3 separate regions of the Homo sapiens genome follow, and all the other regions are linked to region 3. The links are contacts of gene promoters, found by promoter capture Hi-C in blood cells and fetal thymus (Javierre and others, 2016). All regions are on one chromosome and are shown on one strand. The core of a region is centred on a gene start or on the middle of the fragment in contact, and the rest is flanking DNA. Distances in the headings are between cores, read along the strand shown.

Region 1 (2,700 bases), core at 54-2,553, 150 kb after region 3:
ACTCCCTGGAACCTATCCTTGGTCCTGTTAGGGCTGTCAGTCTCCACTCCACCCCCTGTGAATAAGGAAGGAGGCCAGGCTTTGTGGATCTAGAGAGTGAGCAGGAGCCGATCTGAGCCCAGACACGTGCTCTGACCTCCCAGCCCAAAGAACACCTGCTGTCTCAAAGAAGTAAGGACTCCAGTGTCTCGCCATTCACATGTACCACACCCTGAGAATGGTTTGGGGTTTCTAGGCCTCCGGGGTTTCCTGACACATGGGAAATACATAACTCAGCTCTAGGTAAATTCACCAAATGATTCTCTGAACTCTGAAAAAATCACAACTCAATCCAGAATCACATCCCTGAGCAACAGTAAGAGGGCTTGGCATGTCATGTATCTGCAGGAAAATGAATTATATAATCTGTTTTCTTAAATACATCTCAAAGAAAAGTGGACCTTCAGTTCTATTATTCACCAGAAAAGTATCCTAGTACAAATCTGTTTGCATGTTTTGATTCCGAACTTAGAATACTAAATTCAGATGGTTACATACAAACAAGGTATTCTTACTTTGGGTCCATATCATATATGGGTTCTTGGGAAAAAAATTATGAAGATAGTAAAAGAGTTACCCTGAGAAGCTTAAGGACATTCATTTTATAATGCATAATTACATACATTATATACATTTTATAATGTATTATAATTATATAATTATATTTTATTTTTAAATTATATAATTATATACATTTTATAATGTATAATTACATACATTATAAAATGAACGTCCTTAAGCTTCTCAGGGTAACTCTTTTACTATCTTCCTAATTTTCTTTTGTAATATTTTATGCCTTTTTAACATTACAAATATAAAAATCCCATTTCTAACAAGCTGCATCACTGTTGTACATTTTCCACTGCTGGGACACAGGTAAGCAGGCATAAGTAAAACTCTACTCTGACTAAAATTCCTAGGAGTAAAAAACCCTGCCAAGTCCTGGTTTATGGCCCACTCACAATGATGGTCACTATCACAAAAGCTCATATAACAAAGCTGCTGATATAGACCCTCTGAACTGATTTTAGACAGTTCTGAATGGCTGAATATTTAGCAGGAAGGTATTATTTATTGATGTGGACAGAGGTGAGGTTTATACAGTAGAAATCTGTTGGCCACAGGGCAGGATGGAGGAAGGGGGCAGGGAGGTAGAGTCCCTGTGATAAACCCAGATAAATCCTTGGCCCTCCTACACCACTCTGGGCTCTTCGTCTGAAGACCTGGCTTCTAGTCCTAGCTCTGTCACTGCTGTGTTCTGAGCTTCAGTTTCCTCACTTCCAAACAGACACAACAATACCTGTTCCGCTGTTTCACAGGAATTAAGCAAGACATTCAGTAAGGCTTTGAAAACACAAAGAGTGGTATCAACGTGAAGTTCAAATGTATAATAGTTGTTGAATCCAGACATAAGAGAGACATTCAAAAGGCAAATGGAAGAGCTTTCTCAAATTATCAAAGGGAGAAAAATTAGCACTAGCTGTGAATGGGCTCTAAGCTGCCACAAACCCGTTAGGATTGGGAGACACATAGAAGGACACATGGGTCCCAAGGCTCAGAGTGATCGCAATGAGCTGGCAAACCCACTGCCAATCCTGTACACTATCTGCTCAGTTGAGAATAACCCATTCCCATCACAACTGACCCTCTGATCCTGAAAATCACACCTCAAGTCCGAGGCACCTTCTATCAAACTTTGCAATGATGGGAAAAAAGTTACTCCACTTTGCATAAGAATTCATCATATTCTAAGAATCCTATTACTAAGAGATTGTTTTACAAAGCTTATTTAATAAAGCTATTGGTAGAAACCAACAGACTTTTGCAAGTGACTAAAAATCCAACAACTGTTATATGCTAGGAGTCTTCTTGTTCCAAACCAGAATTTTGGTTATGGTGTGTCTGATCAAAAGATAAATAAGAAGTGCCTGGATGAAAAAAAAAAAAAAAGCAATAAAGTGTGCTACCCTTTACACACGAAAAACTGGGAAATAAAAGGAGCATATTTCTCTCAGGTGTATCTAAAAGAAAGAGCAGAAAACAAGGGATGGGAATGAATTAGGCCAAAGGAATCAAGGTTGGAGTGACACTCTTAAGTATACCTTTTTCTATAGTTTTGACTTTGGGAACCATGTTAATGTTCTTCACCTTAAATTTTTAAAAATTAAGTCAGTAAGGATGAGATGAAGGGAAAATACCCCTAAACTGAAAGTGATTTGAAACAAACAAATCTGTAATTCAAATGAATACCATAACCAGACTGAAGGAGAAAGACAAAACTAATTCAAATAGCTCATGAATATTTGACGACATACTCTCAGTCTTGGGTAGGATTGGAGTGAGGGATGAACTACAAACAAATGCTGAACTCTTTTCAGTAGCTTTGTTTTTTGCAGTGATGTGGATGAGACCATTCTGAAACTATCTTAGACATATTACAGGATTTAGCCAGTGAGTACATGTGCTAATGCTGCTGGGAGCCAGAGTTCTCGCTGTGGAAGGAGGGACACAGAAACACGGAACAGAGAAGAACCCTCTGGGGACAGGCTGGAATTGAAGGTATAGGTGTGAACTGATGATTTCTAAAAGATGTTTATTTTAAAGTCTGATTTCCAATGTCTGATTTTTAAAAGAGGCTGATATGTGAGTATGTGTATGTAT
Region 2 (2,700 bases), core at 170-2,669, 160 kb after region 3:
CCCTTTGTGTTTCCCCTGCTTGAGGTTTGTTGGGCCTTTTGGATCTGTTAACTTAGTTTTCAATACTTGCAACATGTTCAGCTTTATTTATCTTAAAATTTTTCTTCCTCAATCTCTTTATTCTCCTGTGACTCCAATTTCATATACACCAGATTGCTTATTGTTGTTTTAGAGATCACTAAGCCCTCATCAACTTTTTCTGCAATGTCCAGTCTACTTTTTTCAGATATTGTACTGTTTCTATTTACCTACTGAGATTTACCTATTCTTTTATTATGTCCATCTTTTCCTTCAGTTCCTTAAACAGGCTCATAGTAGTGACTTCAAAGTCTTTGATTATTAATTGCAACATCTGTCATCTTTTGTTTCTATCGACTTTTCCCTCCTTGATCGTGAATATTTTCCTGCTTCTTTTCATGTCTTATAGTTTTGGGTCATGAGGAAAAACATTCTGGGAACATCTGAGTTTTGGTCTCTTCCTTTAACGAGTGTTGATTTTTGTCTTTTTGACAGGTGTTTAATTTATTGGCCATTTCCCTGATCCTTTTGAAGCTTGTTTCTATGCTTTTTAAGTCAGGTCTACAGTAGGCTTACTCAAGGGCTAAAGTAGCTCCAACCCTAAAGCCTGGCGTTTCTGAAGTCTCAGTACCCAATGTATTCAATTAGGTCCTTCCACTACAGCTGAGCAGAACCATATACCTCCCAGCACGGAGAGATTTCCAACCACTTACAGCATTCTACTAGCTGTTCTCTGCCTGGCTTCAATAAGTATCACCTGGCACAGAAGCAGCTTAGTATATGGTCAGATTTCAAAGAACCTCCACTCTGAGTACTGGAGCCCCTTCTCTGCATACTTCTCACCCATACTCTGCCCTGAAAATCCCAGCTATCTTAGCAGCCCTGAACACTGTTCTTTGACCCCTCAGCAAATAGACCATCGTTCTCTGCTGGGCTCTCCCTCTCTGCCATAATTCTAAAACTGTCTCCAGGCAGAAAGCCAGGACAACTGCGGAGTTTACCTCATGTGTTTCCCTTCTCGTAGGGATTGCAATCCTGTATATCCTATTTCCATTTTCTGAAAATAGTTGCTTCCTATTTTTTGCCCAGTCTTTTGTAGTTGTTTATGGTGAAAGGTCCAGTCTGGTAGCACTAGTATGTTGTGGCTGGAAGCAGATTATATGAGCCTTAAGTTGGTCTCTCTACATCCATTTGTGTATCCATCCAATCTATTCATATTACTGCAGCCACAGTGATTTTCATATGCAGATTTTCCCAACATTTTATTAGGAAGAATTTCAAACATCCATAAAAGTAGAAACAATTATACAATGAACACCCATATGCCTACCTCACCTAGATTCCATAATTAACACCTGCTACCTTTTCTTCTTCTTCTTTTTTTTTTTTAAGACAGGGTCTCACTCTGCTCCCCAGGCTGGAGTGCAGAAGCATGATCATAGCTCACTGCAACCTCAAACTCCTAGGCTCAAGCGATCCTCCTGTCTCAGCCTCCTGAGTAGCTGGGACTATAGGCACACACCACATTGCCCAGCTAAAAAGACTTCTGTTTTTTTTTTTTTTTTTTTTTTTTTTTTTTTACCAGAGACAAAGCCTCGCTATGTCGCCCAGGCTGGTTTCAAACTCCCGGCCTCAAGCAACCCTTCCACCTCACCCTTCTGAATTGCTCGGATTACAGGTGCAAGCCACAGCACCCAGCTGCTACATTTTCTTTATCACCTATCTCTGCATCCCCCTATCCATCTATTAATCATCTTATCTTTTTGAAGCATTTTAAGGTAAGTTGAGGATATGAGAATACAGCATAATTTTTAGAAAATGTAAATTTGAATATCACTCCCTGCTTAAAATTCATCCATGCATTCTCTTACCCTTCAGCTAATGACCAAAACCTGTGACATAGTCTAAAGGTCCTACGTGACCTGGATTCTGCCGGCCAGTCTCTTTCCTTTCATCTGACTTCATCTCCAGCTCTCCCAGTTCCTGTCACCCTAGCTTCATTCAGTTCCTCCAGCATCCTCTGCTCCTTCCTACTGTACCTCCTTTCTGTGGGTTTTCCCTTGACTAGAATACCCTTGCCCTAGCTTCTTGTCCCACCTTGCCTGGATATGTGGACTACTCATTCTTCACTTCCAGGATGCTCCTACCCAATAAACTGACAGCAGTTGTGCCTGTTAAACCCTCTCACAGCACATGAACCTTTCTTTCAAAGCATTTATACGAGTTTGTAATTGTCATTTTGGCCTCCATCATTAGATATAAGCTTCACGAAGAAAGAAACCATTTCATTCCACACTGTCACTGCAGTGCCTACACGGTGCCTACATCCCACCACCGTAACCCTGGTGCCTACATCCCACCACTGTAATCCTGGTGCCTACCCAGTGCCTACATTCCACCACTGTAACCCCAGTGCCTAGCAGGGCACTTGGCATACATCTACCACTGTGTAGGAACTGAAAAAAAATTCATTAAATGAATAAGTCATTCTTAGGAAGTTAAGAGAGAGGGAGAAAAAAGGATCCAGCAGGATTTTCTGCTTCTTATTCGTCTGTTATATCAAATTCAACTGCCTGCAGGCCAAGCACAGTTGCCCTATTTCCAGAGAGCTGTGGAACAATGTCATCCGGAAAGCCCTCCAAAGACAAAACTCCATGGTTCTCCAATGCTCTTCTAGCAGCC
Region 3 (2,700 bases), core at 1-2,500:
GCGCCTGCCACCATGCCCGGCTACTTTTTGTATTTTTAGTAGAGACGGGGTTTCACCATGTTAGCCAGGCTGTTCCCAAACTCCTGACCTCAGGCAATCCGGCCGCCTCAGCCTCCCAAAGTGCTGGGATTACAGGCGTGAGCCACCGAGCCCGGCCAGACTTGACTTTTTTTTTTTTTTTTTAACAAATGAGCCATCATACCAGGAGCTGAGTTCTTATCAAACGGCCGGTGAGAGGCCAAGCAACAACCCTAAATGCTACCAAGCTCAAATTGTTGGCCTTGCAGCAACTACAGCAAAAGGGATGAATTCTTCCCTTTAGTGCAAAGAGCCAAGAGGGCTTCTGAACTGACACAGAGGGGAAGGATAGGAGCTGAAGACATCAGGAAACAGTGAATGGGGTTTGTCCACCAGCAGGTGACTACGGAGCTTGATGCTATATGCTATTCTAAGAGGGCAGCGGTATCATTTCAAAGGTTATTTGGGGGATGAGCTATTTTCTCTTCAGTGACCCAGAAGATTCCCTCGATCATTCAGGGTACTGGGGAAGAAAGGCAACTGCCTTCACGAGTGAACATGGCAATCAATATGGCCAAAAAGGGAGGGGGTACTAATGGAGAAACAGTTCTTGTGCCCCAACAGGTGAGCAGACCCCAAGTAACAATAACTACGTGCCAGGCCCTTCGCCGCTAATTGCAGGCCATGTCGTTATACCTTAAGAGACCCTGGTGGGTTCGGTACTGCCCTTCGTTTTACCGTTCGGGACTTGGAACTTGGTGAGCATAAATGACAGAACCAACAGTACAGGGTGGCATCTGAGACCGGGTCTGTCTGATTCCCACGCCCCTGACTCAAGCAACCTGACGCCGATGTCCGGGGCTGCCCTGAGGGTGCAGGCATGCCCCTTGAGCCGGCAGTCCGCGCACGCCTTCGGGGCAGCCTGGACTGGCGGATCAGACGACGTCAGGATCTGGGCTCGAGGGCCGGGAGATGAGGGAAGAGGTGCTGGCGGGGGCTTACCGGCTCTCGGGGTACGGCGCTCCTGCACAGCGCGGCCAGGCTTAGCAGCACGAGCGACATCGCCGGGCCACTGCGCGGGATCCAGGCCACCCGCACGCTGCGCTTTTATCCCGGCGCCGCCGGGCCGCCCCTTCTCGGCTCCGCCTCTCGCAGCGCCGACCCATTCCCGCCACCCGAACAGAGGGCGGGCCCGCTGGCCCCCTCCCAGGCTGGGGCAGGTCGCAGCGCCCTCGCCTGCTGGGGCTCGGAGGGATGGGCCGTGTCCGAGCGCTGGCGGAGCACGGGCCGCCGCGGCGCGCGCCTACCCCCGCGCACACGTGCATGCAGTGAGCCAGGTGCATCAGCTGCACCCGCCCTCGGGCTTCGCGCGCCTCCGCTGGAGCCCAGCTAGCCTCGCGGCTCCGGGGCCGACCGGGTCGGAACTGCTGCGTCCCCATTCCGGACGCAGAGAGCGCGCGGGGCGCCGGCGCCGCCGGTTAAAGTGCCGCGGGGCAGGGGCCGGGCCGCGGCCACCCGCTCCTCCCGCTCCGGTCCCGACTGTCGGGCTCTCGGCCGAGTCGCCCCGGGTGAGTAGCCGCGGAGGCGCCCCGACCACCCCGCAGCAGCGCCGCCCGGCCGCTAGCCCGGAGAGGCCTGGGGGCCGGAGGTTTGGGGCCGGGCTGGACGCCGAGACCCGGGCCCGCTTTACACAATCGCCCCGCCGCGCGAAGCGAAACGGGTGGAACGCAGACTGCCGAAGCTCACTGACTCCTTTGAGGGAGCGAATTCTTTCAGCTACGCGGGGTTAGAGCGGTAGGAGTGCCCGCTGCCCGACCCCAGGCTTTCTGGTAAATGTCTGTTTCCACCAAGTGAGTTCGGACAGCAACACCTGGGGCTCCCAAAGCGGAAGCCGTCAGCACTGGCGATTTGGAGCTGCGGTTCTCAAGTTTCCCTGGCCCGGGATCTCTAGCGCCGCCTAAAATGAGATCCAGACGGCAGGTCCGGGTCAGGCCCGGGATCTGCATTTAACGAGCCTCCACCCACGCCCCCGTAATTCGTGGGTGGGTGGCCCAGGGACCATCCTTTGAGACACAGTGGGTTTGGGGGAAAGTTCACAAAAATCAGCTGGGCTAACAGTGGAGTCACAGAGGCTGGAACTGCTGCTTCAGCCCCCTCGGTTTGCAAACGACAGGGTTGTGGTGACCAACTCAGGGCCATTTAAACTTGTAGGCAGAATTAGCTCCATTCTACAGATGAGAAGACGGAGGCCTAGAGAGGGGTATGGAACTTAGGGGTGTGTTGTCAGCTGGTGAGAGGCTGTACTAAGTCAAGCAGCTGTTTTAGCTGAGGCCCTACTTGTGTGCCAGGCCTGGCCCACCTGCCAGCTTGATTAAGGCTTGCATGGACTGGGGATCAGCCAGGGGTTTGGGCTCTGGCATGCATACGTGTGGAGTTGCAGGTAGCATTTTCAGAGAATTGCTCTGTTTCCTGACCAAGGAACTCAGTTGAGGTTGTGGCCGCACCCCTGCCTGGGACTGGGCCACCCTGAGCCCCTCATTCCACCTCTCTGAGTTGCTTTGGGCCCTGTGGCCCTTGAGAACATTTTCAGCTCTAATAGTCATCTTCCTGTTCAGCAAATACCTGCTGGGTGCAAAGGTGAACCACACATGGGTGCTGGCTGATGGGTACTCCTGGAGTGAG

Evidence for each region. The method cuts DNA at HindIII sites, captures the fragments that hold promoters and counts their contacts. A CHiCAGO score of 5 or more calls a contact.
Region 1: a fragment that was not itself captured here is called in contact with the fragment with the promoter of CHDH in region 3 in 1 of 17 cell types (M2 macrophages); the score reaches 10.3 in M2 macrophages.
Region 2: a fragment that was not itself captured here is called in contact with the fragment with the promoter of CHDH in region 3 in 1 of 17 cell types (M2 macrophages); the score reaches 5.1 in M2 macrophages.

The regions. Positions count from the first base shown.
Region 1 is chr3:53,698,096-53,700,795 of GRCh38, reverse strand. The region is part of intron 8 of CACNA1D (calcium voltage-gated channel subunit alpha1 D); the gene reads right to left. Among named protein-coding and RNA genes, the nearest start is that of CHDH, 150 kb to the left of the region's middle. The HindIII fragment of the contact is 1,044 bases long and covers 782-1,825 here.
Region 2 is chr3:53,681,264-53,683,963 of GRCh38, reverse strand. All of the region lies in intron 8 of CACNA1D (calcium voltage-gated channel subunit alpha1 D), which reads right to left. Among named protein-coding and RNA genes, the nearest start is that of CHDH, 160 kb to the left of the region's middle. The HindIII fragment of the contact is 1,729 bases long and covers 555-2,283 here.
Region 3 is chr3:53,844,969-53,847,668 of GRCh38, reverse strand. CHDH (choline dehydrogenase) reads left to right here and starts at 1,250. Exons shown (of 9, transcript NM_018397.5): 1 at 1,250-1,586. It overlaps IL17RB (interleukin 17 receptor B), which reads right to left and starts at 1,101. Exons shown (of 11, transcript NM_018725.4): 1 at 1,021-1,101. The coding sequence starts at 1,080. RefSeq lists enhancers at 1,053-1,347, 1,294-2,134, 2,135-2,700 and a silencer at 1,053-1,702. The HindIII fragment of the contact is 5,797 bases long and covers 1-2,700 here.